5 separate regions of the Homo sapiens genome follow, and all the other regions are linked to region 5. The links are contacts of gene promoters, found by promoter capture Hi-C in blood cells and fetal thymus (Javierre and others, 2016). All regions are on one chromosome and are shown on one strand. Each heading gives the region's core, a stretch centred on a gene start or on the middle of the fragment in contact. The rest is flanking DNA. Distances are from core to core; before and after follow the strand shown.

The links. The method cuts DNA at HindIII sites, captures the fragments that hold promoters and counts their contacts. A CHiCAGO score of 5 or more calls a contact.
Region 1: a fragment that was not itself captured here is called in contact with the fragment with the promoter of CASP3 in region 5 in 2 of 17 cell types (naive CD4 T cells and total CD8 T cells); the score reaches 6.5 in naive CD4 T cells.
Region 2: a fragment that was not itself captured here is called in contact with the fragment with the promoter of CASP3 in region 5 in 1 of 17 cell types (neutrophils); the score reaches 5.6 in neutrophils.
Region 3: a contact is called between a fragment that was not itself captured here and the fragment with the promoter of CASP3 in region 5, in 6 of 17 cell types (naive CD4 T cells, activated CD4 T cells, naive CD8 T cells and 3 more). The highest score is 8.9, in naive CD4 T cells.
Region 4: a contact is called between a fragment that was not itself captured here and the fragment with the promoter of CASP3 in region 5, in 2 of 17 cell types (naive CD4 T cells and activated CD4 T cells). The highest score is 5.6, in naive CD4 T cells.

What each region holds. Positions count from the first base shown.
Region 1 is chr4:184,453,025-184,455,724 of GRCh38, reverse strand. All of the region lies in intron 1 of IRF2 (interferon regulatory factor 2), which reads left to right. Among named protein-coding and RNA genes, the nearest start is that of IRF2, 20 kb to the left of the region's middle. RefSeq lists an enhancer at 2,160-2,219. The HindIII fragment of the contact is 2,041 bases long and covers 256-2,296 here.
Region 2 is chr4:184,884,702-184,887,401 of GRCh38, reverse strand. No RefSeq gene overlaps it. Among named protein-coding and RNA genes, the nearest start is that of LINC01093, 13 kb to the left of the region's middle. The HindIII fragment of the contact is 5,089 bases long and covers 1-2,700 here.
Region 3 is chr4:184,416,871-184,419,570 of GRCh38, reverse strand. IRF2 (interferon regulatory factor 2) reads left to right here. Exons shown (of 9, transcript NM_002199.4): 3 at 3-102; 4 at 863-1,039; 5 at 1,358-1,404. Among named protein-coding and RNA genes, the nearest start is that of LINC02362, 36 kb to the right of the region's middle. RefSeq lists enhancers at 351-1,550, 1,429-1,728, 1,919-2,088. The HindIII fragment of the contact is 6,751 bases long and covers 1-2,700 here.
Region 4 is chr4:184,433,663-184,436,362 of GRCh38, reverse strand. The region is part of intron 1 of IRF2 (interferon regulatory factor 2); the gene reads left to right. Among named protein-coding and RNA genes, the nearest start is that of IRF2, 40 kb to the left of the region's middle. The HindIII fragment of the contact is 1,357 bases long and covers 584-1,940 here.
Region 5 is chr4:184,648,169-184,650,868 of GRCh38, reverse strand. CASP3 (caspase 3) reads left to right here and starts at 1,422. Exons shown (of 8, transcript NM_004346.4): 1 at 1,422-1,474; 2 at 2,238-2,404. PRIMPOL (primase and DNA directed polymerase) reads right to left here and starts at 1,131. Exons shown (of 14, transcript NM_152683.4): 1 at 961-1,131. RefSeq lists silencers at 1,115-1,694, 1,705-1,914. The HindIII fragment of the contact is 9,772 bases long and covers 1-2,700 here.

The DNA.
Region 1 (2,700 bases), core at 27-2,526, 190 kb after region 5:
CCTTTGCTTATCATTTGTTCATAAGTTTATCCATCACAACGTATAGTTAATATCATCCGCCTTATCCTCCTCAGCCCTTGCCCTCAGTGAGTTTTCCAGGAGGGATTCATCCACTTTCTTATCAATGAGTGATTACTACATGTCATTATGTGCAAGCTACTGTGCTCGGTATTTTGGGATGAGTGAGATGGGACTCCTCCTCACAGGACTTTATACAGAGATAAGCCCGTTGCCAAGTACCTGAAGCTGTAAGCTTTGGTTGCATCAGAAGGTGGAAGGAGGCTGAGTGCGGTGGCTCATGCCTGTAATCCCAGCGCTTTGGGAGGCTGAGATGGGAGGATCACTTGAGGCCAGGAGGTTGAGACCAGCCTGGGCAACATGGGGAGACGCCTTTCTCTACAAAAAAAAAAAAAAAAAAAAAAAGAAGAAGAAGGAAGGGAGGGGGAGGGGAGGGAGAGGGAGGGAAGGGGGAGGGGAGGGGAGGAAGAAGAAAGGAATCAGTGGGATAAGAGGTTAGAAGAAGAAGGTGGAGGGAATCAGTGGGAACAAGAGGTTAGAAAGGTGGGATGGGGATGAATTATGGTGGCCAGGAGTCCAGATTTTATTCAATGGGCGTTGTGGAACCATGGAAGGATTTTCTGCAAGGTCAGGAGCCATTTGGGGAGATTAATCTGGCCAAGAATGTGCAGGGTGGAGAATATGCTTCTATTACAGAAGGTGGACCCTGGACATCGTCTTGCTCCTTGTGGAACACTGACTTAGTCACTGCAGTTAGGTGGAGCACGGGCCCTACTGTTTGGAATTTCTTTGGGGAAGTCTTAGGGGAGACCAAGGAAATCTCACCTCATACTTTTCCTCCTAACATAAACTAGCCTTTATCTGTTTCTTCTCACGGTAGCTCTGCTAAGTTGCTATTAAGATCTCTGTTTAGTGATGAGGAAACTATGGCTTGGCGAAGTTGAAGGTTGTGAGTGGTGAGGTTCCAGTTCAGGTGTGCTTGACGCCAAATCTGAGCTCCCACTACCATATTATGCTTTAACAAGGAGAGGGAAAGAAAAGAAATCATTGTGGTCCTGGGAGGGGTTGGCAGAGAGGGGAAATAGTGACCATCCAATGGATGCCAGATCCGACCCTCCCACCTCTGGCTACCATTCGGAAACTGGTGAGAGGCAGTAGGTATCTTCCAAAAATATTTGAAGACAGTTCTGCAGCTTGCAGAGGAGACATGGATTCTTGCTTCGGAGGTATTCCTGTACTTAGAGTGGTAGCAATTTTGGCTCTTTTTCCAGTTGGAATTCATTGGTAATTGGGATGGTTTATCCCAGGAATAGAATCAAACTAGCGGAAACTGTAGTGCGTAAGTTTATAGTTTGTGTGCTGGAGCTTGACCAGATTTGAACATAAAGAGTTAAATTGGATGTCTCCATAATAATTAATAATAATAACACCAAGAATAGCTGGTAACCTTTATGGAGAGCTCCCTGGCAGAGGGGACAGCTTAAAGGAAATCCTCAAAGGAAAAGTGGCAGCAAGAAGCAGATCCTGAGGGCCAGCCTGTGGATGTGGAGTGTGGGAGGAAATCATTTACTCTCATCCAGGGGAAAAGATAGTGCCCTTCAAATCAACCTTTCAGAACAGGTTATTTTCAGGCAACTGGTTTTTGGGAAGGCGTTGGTTTTCAAGGTAGTCTGCTAGTGATGTGATTGAAGTCAGAAAGCAGCAATTTTGTTGCTCTATGCAAATAGGTTTTCTTAGGTTCCAGTTCCAGTATGCTGGCTCTTTGAGTTTCTGTTATTTGACTTTTCACAAATACTGACCACATTGACATCTCCTCTCTCTTGTCCCCTTGTCTTTTCTGTGTTCCTGAAGGGGCAAAACACACCTTTTGAGGTCTGTGGAGCTCAAAAATGAAGTCAAAGGTGACTGGGTGACACAAACAGCTCAGGTAATTCAGGTCCTGCCGTTTCTGCCACGCTCCTCCTCCTCAAGCCAGCATGGCTCAGTTATCCACTCTGATGTCTACCCTTTTCCCACGTGCCTCCTCTTATTGAACTTGTTCTCTATACTGTTACGTCTCCAGTGTCTGCATCAGAGGACTGAGAGGTCTTTTCCGGCTTGCATACTGCAGGCTGACACAGTCTTAAAGGAACTTCCTACTGCACTCTGAGGAGGAGGAGCTGTGCCTTCTCGAGGTCATGTTACTTCTCCTGTACTGCAAAGGCAGTGCTCAGAGGACGTGCTGATTAAGGGAAATATAGGATCACTTCTTTTCCCGTTTTCCATATGGAAAGAAGCTTTGAAAATGCAGTATGTGCTCGAGTCCATATGCTTTGAAATCTGTGCATGATTCTTGCTTTGCTGAATTGCAGAGGCTGATGCCATCTAGATGCTGCGACCCAGGGCCAAACACACCTAAGGGTCCCAGCATGAGTTTCAATTTATAAAATACTTTTAAAAGTCAGTCTACCCTTTTAGGTCTTAATGGCCTTGCATAAATTTTTCTAGAAAATGCTCTTTAAAAAAATGATGGAGTAAAAAATACTCTTAGATTTTCATAATTTAAATGTATCTGGAAGGTAATTTATCTGCAATTCACAGTTTTCTCATGTTGTCTGTTTTTTACAGAAAAGAATATTACATGTGTATCTGCATCAGATTTCAAGATCATTGTAGTTTTTTCTTTTTTTAATTTTAAGACAG
Region 2 (2,700 bases), core at 178-2,677, 240 kb before region 5:
AGAGGAAAGTCTTAGCCCATGGCCAAGCTCCCAGTTCTTCATAAATACCAGGAAAAAATGGGCTTTTAAAAGGTGTTACATAAGTCATCCTATTGAAAAGTCAGGTAGGGAGTACAATGTGCAATTCAGTCAGTAAGGCAGTTGCCACTAGACTCGTGGAGGGAAGAGGGAGATTGAGACTTGTATGGGAGGCAAGATAGAGAGGGGAGGAATACTAGTCTTGCAGTCAGAAAACCTGGTTGACTCTGCTATCCCACTGCTCTGGGCAATGTCCTCATCTATAACATGGGGAATACACATCCCAGAGAGGAATAAGAAGTAAATGAAATTGTATCTTTGCAAGTGCATTGAAAGAATTGCAGAGAATTATTCTCCTATAATTTACATCCACCACCCCTTTCCTCTTTCTTGGCTATTCAGATATTCTTGGCTGAGTCGAGGAATGAATACCCAGCTTGATTAGGCAGGTGTGGACTGAGGCTGGTGACCAACCCCACTGTCCCTCAGGAGCTTGGTGGCTGGTTCTTCTAGCAATAGCTCACCTGTGTCTAATCCCACATTTACTCTCTTAGAGCAAGAGAGAGAGGCTAGCATTCTGCTGACTGTCCAGGCACTGAAATGATCATGGTCAAGTCATATTCAACTAACTCCTTTTTTTCTGTAGAAAATACTATATTATAGAGTTGCACATGATCTTGTTGTAGGAGGGAGGTGAAAAACTAATTAAGAACATAGCTTGCTGAATGAGTATTTCCTCAGAGTTGATTAATATCAGTGTGCTAGCCAGAGCGAGATCATTAGGTCTCTGTTTTTGGCCATGGTCAAACTGACAACTTAATGAGTAATGCACAGAAAGCATGCTGATCAGATCTGCAAATGCGGGAAAAATACTTACAACCAAATAGCAAATGCTAACTAAATAGATGATAAACAAAACCAAATAAATGCCCGTAAGATTCTGTTAATGATTTTCGCCCCTGGATGTGCACTAGAATCAACAGGGAAACATATTTTAAAAATATTCATGCCTTCTAATTTAGTTTAATTTCCCCGGGAATTTAAAAAAAAATTAAAGAAAAAAGAAAAATCACATGACTAGGATCCTTTCCCAGAGATTCTGACTGAGTGTGGGGCCAATCTATGTGAAAATCATTTTAGAAGGTAGTAAAGGCAAAACAAAACCAAGATGCGAAGTGGCATACACTTTAGGATACTAAGTATATGAAAATACATACGCAGAAAAAGATGGTAGGAAAATATAAGAAACTGTTAACTGTGATTAACTCAGGATTAGCAAACAGATTGATAATAAGTGACCTTACTTTCACTGTATTTTCCACGAAGCCTTCAATAGTCACAATGTATTGCTTTTTAATCAAGGGAGAAAAGTTGATTTTTTAAAAAGATGTTGGAGTTGACTGATTACTTTTGTGTGCCAACTGTATAATGTTGGTTACTAAAAAAACTATCAGAATCATAGGCTGCCTGTCCATGAACATGGTAGCTACTTAAGATCACGAATGACACCATGGGCTTTGTGCTGGGCAGAACTCACTGGAGTTGTGTTTGCCTCTGAGGACCATATATGGATAGGGATATCATCCGCCAGGAAATGAAGGGCTGCAACACATCATGAGTCAAGAGCAAGATCCTGGTTTGGAAAAGAGGAGACGGGGCTACGGCAACTGTCTCTCTATATCTGAAGTGCTTTACTAGAGAAGAAGGAGCAGGTGTCCTCAAAAGCCATTCATCAGCAAGAACATGCTGGCCCAACCTAAGAAAGAGCCTGAAAGAATAAAAAGGTGCAGCAGCAGGGTTGGCTGCTTCCAAATGTATGAGGTACCCCATTATGCAAAGTGTCAGTGCACGCTCTGAAACTTTATGTATTTGGTAGGAAAAACTTCTGTGTCCTATTTATTCACAAATGTACTGAGATGTTCATTTATTCAATAAATATTTATTGAGAAGATTGTGTGTTGCAAGAAAGTTGGAGTAAGTACCTTTCAAAAGTTCTTTCTGATCAAATCATGCTTCTGCTTAGTTCAAAGGAAGTGTTGGGGCTCTGGTATTATGTTGACTGAAGAAAAGAAAATCGAGCTTTTAAAGAATTAAAGTTAGTTTTATTCAGAAGTCTGACTCAGGACTACGGACTGAGAACTACAGCCTGGGAGGAGTCTTTCAGAGAGGTCAGACTCCTCCAAAGCAGTGTTTTAGTTCATAGTTTATGCAAAATCACATCAAACTTGTTCAGAAGTTACAGTAAAGCAGAAATACATCAAGGTTAGGATGTAAGAGTACATCTGATTATAGGTCACAGAGGCATAATCATTAACCACACCAGATGTTGTCTTACGTCTAGGAAAGGGCAAAGACCAGGGTCACTTACCTTTTCTGGAATACAGCGACCCAGGCAAGAGATGTGGGAGCCGTGTGCTCTACCCTGCCATGTCTTCAAAGCATCCCTCCGGAGAGCTACACTTGCCACAGTGTCAGGGGCTTTGTGAAATTATGCTGGCCAGCAAATTGAGAAAATGCACCTTCTTACATTTGCTACTCTGTCTCACAACTATATTTGTTCAAGAAAGTTTTATTAGGTGCTAATTACCCAAGGAATAATTATTAGTATGTACCATGAATAGGTACAAGATTAAGGTTAAGATGCTGGATTCCAAACCTGCAAGGTTAAGGCCTTTGGTAGCA
Region 3 (2,700 bases), core at 131-2,630, 230 kb after region 5:
AGGAAAAGAAGATTTTTCAGATCCCCTGGATGCATGCGGCTAGACATGGGTGGGATGTGGAAAAAGATGCACCACTCTTTAGAAACTGGGCAATCCATACAGGTACTAAAACTCCCTGCGGCGTTTATAGAGGAAGGCACTCTTGCTTAGTTTTGTTTTTATTACACATAAAATAGCCTGGCTTATGACCTCATGAAGATGGCTCTGAAAAACCTGTGACTTGTCCCTAGGCACATCCAGGACACATGGGGTACAAACTGCAGCCCTCAGAAGTAATGCTCCCCTCATCCCATACACTCTTAGTCCTTCAATTTCCTATAAATGTGGTATTCTAAGAAGTTCCCTAGGTGTTACCGGGGAATAGAAACTCAGTTGTTCTGATGCTATAAACTTTGGTCAAATTTATCTCCCCCCCAAAAAGGTAGTCAGAAATACCTGTATTTATTACAACCTTTACGTAGGGAGCTGTTTACAGGAATGGACTTTGTTGGAGCGTCAGATGAAAAAGAGGCACTCAGCTTCCCTCTGCCTGTTGACTTTGCAGCCTCTCAGTCTTCTATATTTTTCTTACGCTGATGCTCCATTCTTCCAGCATTTATAGTTTCCTCAAGCTGTTCAGTAGAACCAGGGTGACCAACTTGTCCCAGTTTGACTGGAACTGTTCAGGTTTTAAAAACAAAATTCCCACATCCCAAGAACTTTCTCACCCCCAGGTACACCAGGACGATTGGTCACTGGAGGTATAGCATGGAGTGAAAAGGTTTCCTTATACTGCCTGACCAGCAATACTGTGTTTCCAGAAATTCCTTCCTCTGTATCTAATGTTTTCTCTCTTTTTCTTAATCTTTGTCTCTTTTGTTAGGAAAGCATCAACCAGGAGTAGATAAACCTGATCCCAAAACATGGAAGGCGAATTTCAGATGCGCCATGAATTCCTTGCCTGATATTGAAGAAGTCAAGGATAAAAGCATAAAGAAAGGAAATAATGCCTTCAGGGTCTACCGAATGCTGCCCCTATCAGAACGGCCTTCTAAGAAAGGTAAAGGCATTTACAGACTAAAATAAGGTAAATCAATTTGTGTCATCGTGCCTTCGTGATCTCTTCATTTCTACATCTGCAGTCAGTTTGCAGGTAGAATAGCCTGTTCATGCTGTAGGGGATCATTCCGCCCCTACCTGGCTTGGAAACAAGACTTTCGATTCACCAGAGGCAGTGAAAGATACATGTGGAATTTTGACCATGTACAGATTAAAGCAACAGGTTCATTGAGAGTTTCAGAAAGAATTTAATTTGAGGGAAATGTTTCTCTGGAGGCCCTTCGTGAATTAATCCAAAACTACATTTTTGTTGCCACAGGAAAGAAACCAAAGACAGAAAAAGAAGACAAAGTTAAGCACATCAAGGTAATCTTGGGTGATTCAGAGAGAAAGCCAAAGTTGGGATCCTATTAATGACTCATATTCTGCCTTGTAAAGATGAGTCACAGGACCTCAGTGTGTCCTCTTTCTTCCTTTGCTTGTGTCTTCTGTGCTTTACATGTTTGCTCTTCAGCATGTATCCACTTGCAGACATGGAGGTACACAGGGCCCTGCCTCATCCCGTTTCTCTGGGAAATTTATGAATGAAGTCACAGATTCTCACTGTGCTCGGCAGGCTGAGGCCTCCATCTGGCCACCACAGCCGTTGCCAGTGGTCATTTTGTGCCAGCTAAACTCCACAACAGCTTATTCTCATACTATTAAGTATATTTTCAGGCTATTAAGTATACTTTAATATGTATTAAATGTTATAGACCTCTATACAATGTATGAACTCTATGTTACAGACATTCCGTCACAGGCCCTTTGGTGGGGGACAGAGTGGTCAATGTCAGCACTCTATCAGAACAGCTCTCAATGGCTGCCTTCTGTCCACTGTAGAATCATCTCTCACACCCCACAAGGGTTTTCCATGGGATGTGCATGTGTGTGTCAGCTTCTCACTAGGCTGTGTCGTCTGAACTCCCCTACAGTCTGAGGATCTTTATGCATAGATTAGGTGGCCCTTGTTAAATAGTAAGAGAAGAGCCGAATATGCCCTGCAAAACTGGGGACGAGCTTCAGTGGCTGAGCAGAGAGCATACACTGCGGTCACAGACCCAGGGATCTCAGAGAGATTGTCGAGCTCCCTGGCCTCCCTTTGCAGATGAAGAAATTTAGGCGGAGGGTGTTTTTGCAGTGATGCTTTCAGTTTCACTTTTACTAGTTTTTATTTTTAACTAAATTTAAATATTGTACTGTATTAAAGGCCTAATTTTGTTTTAACTTTTCATTGTGGAAAGATTTTATGCACATAGGAAGGAGACAGTTGAGTAAAATTTACCCCATAGGCCATCATTCAGATTAATTTTAACCTTAATCAGCTCCTGGCCAGTTTTGCTTCATCAATAGCCCCTCCCATTTCCTGACTTCTAACATGAAATTGCAGCCCTTCAACCATTTTTGACTTACAGAAGTAATTTATTTATTTAATTTTTTTTAAACTGAGATGGAGTTTTGCTCTATTGGCACAGGCTGGAGTGCAATGGCGCGATCTTGGCTCATTGCAACCTCCGCCTCCTGGGTTCAAGCGATTCTCCTGCCTCAACCTCCCGAGTAGCTGAGACTACAAACACGTGCCACCATGCCCAGCTAATTTTTGTATTTTTAGTAGAGATGGGG
Region 4 (2,700 bases), core at 13-2,512, 210 kb after region 5:
CACTCAGCACAGTTCCTTGTAACAATGTGTGTTTAATGAATTTTTGCTGATCCATTGGGTGACTGGGTAATAAGAAAAGGCGTTCCATGGCCGGGCGCAGTGGCTCACGCCTGTAATCCCAGCACTTTGGGAGGCCAAAGTGGGCGGATCACGAGGTCAAGAGATTGAGATCATCCTGGCCAACATGATGAAACCCTGTCTCTACTGAGAATACAAAAATTAGCTGGGCATGGTGGTGGGCACCTGTAGTCCCAGCTACTCCGGAGGCTGAGGCAGGAGAATTGCTTGAACCTGGGAGGCAGAGGTTGCAGTGAGTCGAGTTCGAGCCACTGCACTCCAGCCCAACGACAGAGCGAGACTCTGTCTCAAAAAAAAAAAGAAAAAAGAAAAAGAAAAAGAAAAAAGAAAAGCTCCAGAGATAATATGAATCCTAGGGTAATGTTATGTTCCTCAAGATCTGATTTCTATTTACTTTTGGTAGTTCCAGGTCATTTTCATTAGATCAGGGATTGAGATGATTCAAAGCTGGGCTTCAGCCTTTGATATTAGTTTATTTCTACTTAGTTGTATTACTTACAAAGCTTGTGAGGGTGTTTCCAGGAACCCCTTTTCCTAGCTGCATCCTGATGTTCAATTTTTGTCTCCTCAGTCACCTGAGTGTGTCAAAAGCTCTGCTTTCAAAGCCCCACAGCCTCCTCTTCAGAAAGGAGCAGCTGTCCCTGCGCTAGGACGACAGCAGCCCTAAATGTCAGGTTCACCTTCCTGGGTTTCTTTTTCTCCTAGATCTTGCCCCCCTAATTTTTAACTACCTTGTTAGCTCTCTGATGCATTTAAATGGATTTTAAAAATATATTTTGTCCATGTTTCTTAGTTATTCAGCCTGGGAGTCAGGTCTGAATTACCTACTGTACCATTACCAGAAGCACCACCCCCCTCTCAGCTAAGGAATTTATTACCTTAAATCCAGCAGGCACATTTAGAAGTCTCTGGAACAGAGAATTAACATGATTAAATGGTATTTTAGGAAGATGACTGTCAGTGGTTTGCAAGACGGAGAGGAGTTTGGAAAGTCTCAGTAAGTAGAACAATTAAGAGGTCTTCATAACTCAGTGCTTTCTAAAGTACGATGAAGGCAGAGGTTAGAGTGGATAAGCCTGGGTGTTTCACGTTAGATAGGCCTGAATTTAAATGAGAGTCTTGGCTCTCCACTTACTAGCAGGTAATAAAGGATAATAAAGTCCCTATGTCCTAGGGTTGTAAGGGTTAAATGGCAAAACTTGTAGAAAACCCTAGGTTTTTTATTTTCTATTTTTAGAGAGGGGCTGTCTTTCTGCCACCCAGGCTGGAATGCAGTGGTGTGATCATGGCTCACTGCAGCCTCGAACTCCTGGCTTCAAGTGATTGTCCCACCTCAGCCTCCCAAGGAGCTGAAAAGACAGGTGTGTCCCACCACACCTAGCAAGAAAACCCTAGTTTTAATGCCCAGCACATAGTAGGTGCTCTGTAAATGGTAACCGTTGCTCTTACTATTCCAAGAACCAAAATTCAGTTATTTGGGTGAAAATTCAACCTCACTGTTAATAGCACTAATCATGGATAGTACTGTCAACTTCATGGGGGATCATTCGTGACTTACGAATCACAATGAATAGCTTGCATGCCTTATATAGCAGGCTTGGCACCAGTGATATTCTCAGTACCCACCATGGGCTGAATTGACTTATGGCCAGATGCCACAGTTTTGAAGCCAGTCCCAGCCTCAAATCTCAAAGGTGTAAAGGTAGATGATTTTACAACGTGCCTTTCGTCAGGCTCCAGGGTAGATGCTTCAACTCTTTTACTTACTTTGAAGTACAGGTTGCTCATATATTAGGTTTGCAGAACCATAAAATTTTAGCATTTTACTTCTAAAAACAACCTGATGTGCAAGAAGAGAAGCTTACAGAAAAAAAAACATCAGATTATGATTCATCGTATCATGGATAACCCCAGGAATCATCTGTTTAAAACGTCCCATTTTTCTAGATGATCAAAGTGTGGGCCGGGAAGATGGAGGGATTAGCCCAAGGACACACACCAGCAATGGCAGAGTCAAGGTCGCGACACAATGTCCTGATTTCTGTGCATTTTGGTTCTTAGACAAACATAGCCGCTCTGTGTCATCTCCACTGAGCTACCTGCCTTCTCTAACTCTGTTCGAGGTTCACGTGGCCTGACTGTTAGCGCCTGTGGGAGGCTTGCCTTACAGAAAGACCAGCGTGTCACCTTGACTTTCGATAATGGAAGCTAGACGATACATACCGAGTAAGCATCTTTCTTTCCAGTCCTCAGTCCTCTGACCCTCTGTGCCTGTCATCTCAGTCTTTTAATCTCCGGAAACATAATTAATCTGTTTATAGTGTCCAACTAAATGATCCGTTTCTGGTGCTAGGCTTGAGGTAGATTCTGCCTTTGCTGTTTTTCACAGAAGTAAAGATGTACGCTCACCCTCGGCTAGTCGTGAGAAACCTGTGTCAAATGGCAAACTTTGTACCGTGTCGCGAGGCAAGCGCACTGGTAATGCACTACCTGCCCAGGGCGTGGGAGATGGGTCAGGGGAGAAAAATCAAGTCACAAAGGAGAAGGGCCTTCATGTGACTGGGTTAGCTTTTCATTGAGTCTCATTGGAGATGTCCTAGCTACAAACAAACCAACCAACCA
Region 5 (2,700 bases), core at 173-2,672:
GGGTAACCATATATAAAACTAAGTATATTTCTGTGCAGAATATAGTCCCTATAGTCGAATAGGCGCAAGTGTTAGAAACAGGCTCTGCCATGGGGTCCCTGAATCTGACTTCTGAATGTCAAGAACTTTTTGAAATCTGATGCAGAATGTCGTGCTCACATGTGTTGGTGAATTCTTCTGCGAAAATGATTCACAGTTTGCTTCAGGGTCTGAAATGAGTTCACGACCCAAAATAGGAAGGGGATCGGTAGGGCAGTGTATATAGCACACCATTGACGTAACCATTAATAACTCCATCTTAGGAGAAGACCCCATTTTTACATTTCATAAGGCATTTGCCAACAAGCATACTATACTTTAATAAACAAATAAAAAAATAGTCCGCATCCAGCCAGGTAAGGACACAAACAAGCACTCTCTTCCATTACCAGTTCTCACCACAGGACTCTGTGACTATAAAAGATGGGGCCTTCGGCAGCTCCCAACAGCCGGCTTAATTGACGCCGTCTTTGCAGAAGGACCTCTCGGCCCAAACCAGGCTTCTTTTCCTCTTCTTCACTCCCTCTGGATTGGTTCGTTAATCTCTTTGCCCCATCTCTTTTTCCTCATGATGTTAAATGCTACTTTGTTGTGGGATGCTTAACTTGTAACATTTATATGTGGATTAAGTACACTACTATGATGCGTGAGCGGCTTGAGCCTGTGTGTCAGGCTCTGACTACCCAGTGACCAGCAAGTGCTGAGAACTGCCTCCTTGGGAACTCCACGCAGCTCGTGGCTTTTGTGATCGAAAGAGCGTCCACAGCAGCCTGACATGGTGGAAAACACAGCATGCGTGGACCTGGTTATTTCTAGCCTGGCACCCTGATGACAGGAGGTTAAGGCTTTTGATTTAGGGAGAGAGACCTGAGGGTAACCCAAAGAAAGGCCTCAGGTCATCGCAGAGGAGACAGAAATTACCGGTGGGCGTCCCGGCCTGCTCCTCTTCTTCCCAGAGCTCAAACTGGGCAGCAGGCCTGGCTTTGTCTCCCTTCTAGGTACCCGTTGGGCCTGGCGCGGTTTCCAAGTCTCCCTCAATTTCCCTCCAGAATCCCGCGCTGGGAGCGGAAGCCCGCGGACTCTCAGGAAGACCTAGATTTCAAATCCGGGGCGGGGGAGCCGGGCCGAGCCTCAGGGCGGGACCAAAGCGGGAGGACTGGCGCGGGACGCGAGGGCGGGACCAGGGCGTGAGGACGCGGGGCGCGGGGGCGGGGCGCGCTGCGGTGGGCGGGCGCCTCCTGGGGCCCAGCCTGGGGCTGGGTTCTCGGGCGGGCGGGAGCTAGGGGACGGGCCGCAGCGGAGGCGGCGCGAGGGGCCGACAGGGGCGGGCGGGAGGCGGGGCTGGCGCTGGAGCACATCTCCCGGCGGCGGGCCGCGGAAGCAGTGCAGACGCGGCTCCTAGCGGATGGGTGCTATTGTGAGGCGGTTGTAGAAGGTATGAGGAGGCTGTGCGGTGACTGCCGCCCTCGCTCCGGGCCGTCAGCCCTGCCCCCGCTCCCTGCGTTCTCCCAGGCCCTGCGCCCGCCCGGGTACCTGCCCGGTCTGGAAGGCGGAGTGTTTGTTTTGCCACCTCGCCCGGGCGGGGGCGAGCAGTGAAGCCCGCGGAGCGAGAGACTTGGCCCGGAGGCGGGAGCCTGGGCCGGGGCCGGGGAAGCCAGGCAGCGGGTTAAGGCTTTTGATTTAGGGAGAGGGACCTGGGGGTAACCTAAGGAAAGGCCTCAGGTCATCGGAGGGGAGACCTGGCCCGGGGGCGGGAGGCTGGGCTGGGACCGGGGAGGCCGGGCAGCGCGAGGCCGGGCCGGGGAGGCCAGGCAGCGGGAGGCCTGGCCAGGGGAACCGAGCCCGGGGCCGGGAGGTCGGGCACGGGGCACCGAGCTCCGAGGGCGGGAGACCTGGCGGCCGGCCGAGTGCCGGAAGGCCGGGTCAGGCGGCGGAAGGCAGCGGCAAGCTGGGAAACGGACGGCGCTACCGCCGGCGGAGGAGTGGCCCCGGGAAGCGGTGCTGCGAGGGCTGGGGCGGCCGGGTGCTGACTGTGAGATACTCGCCCTGGGGGCTGATCCTTCCAATTTTGGACGAGGCTTCCGTCTCTGCTGCCTTCCATGCCTGGGGCCTGGATTATCCCGGGTTGACAATGTGGTTTAGCTCTTCCAGAGAGATAGTTGCAGGGTTTAAACTCCAATTCCTTTTCGGCCCTGCAGAGTTTCGTGAGTGCTCGCAGCTCATACCTGTGGCTGTGTATCCGTGGCCACAGCTGGTTGGCGTCGCCTTGAAATCCCAGGCCGTGAGGAGTTAGCGAGCCCTGCTCACACTCGGCGCTCTGGTTTTCGGTGGGTGTGCCCTGCACCTGCCTCTTCCCCCATTCTCAGTAAGTGGCACCCAAGCAGGAAACCGGAAAACATCGTTCGCAGCCCCCTCTCGCCCACCCACTTCTTTTCCTGCTTAGTCGCCAAGCCTTGTCGACCTTGTAAATGTCTGCCAGATCTGTCCGCGTCTCTCTATCTCTGATTTCAGCCGTCTGACCACAGCAGCCTCTTCCCTGGTCTCTCCACTTCCAGACCCGCCTGCTCCTTTGCAGTCCACTTTTTACAGCACAGGCAGAGGGATCTTTATGAAATGAAAGTCTAGAAAGCTCGTCCTTTGCCCTTAGGTTAAACCCAGCAC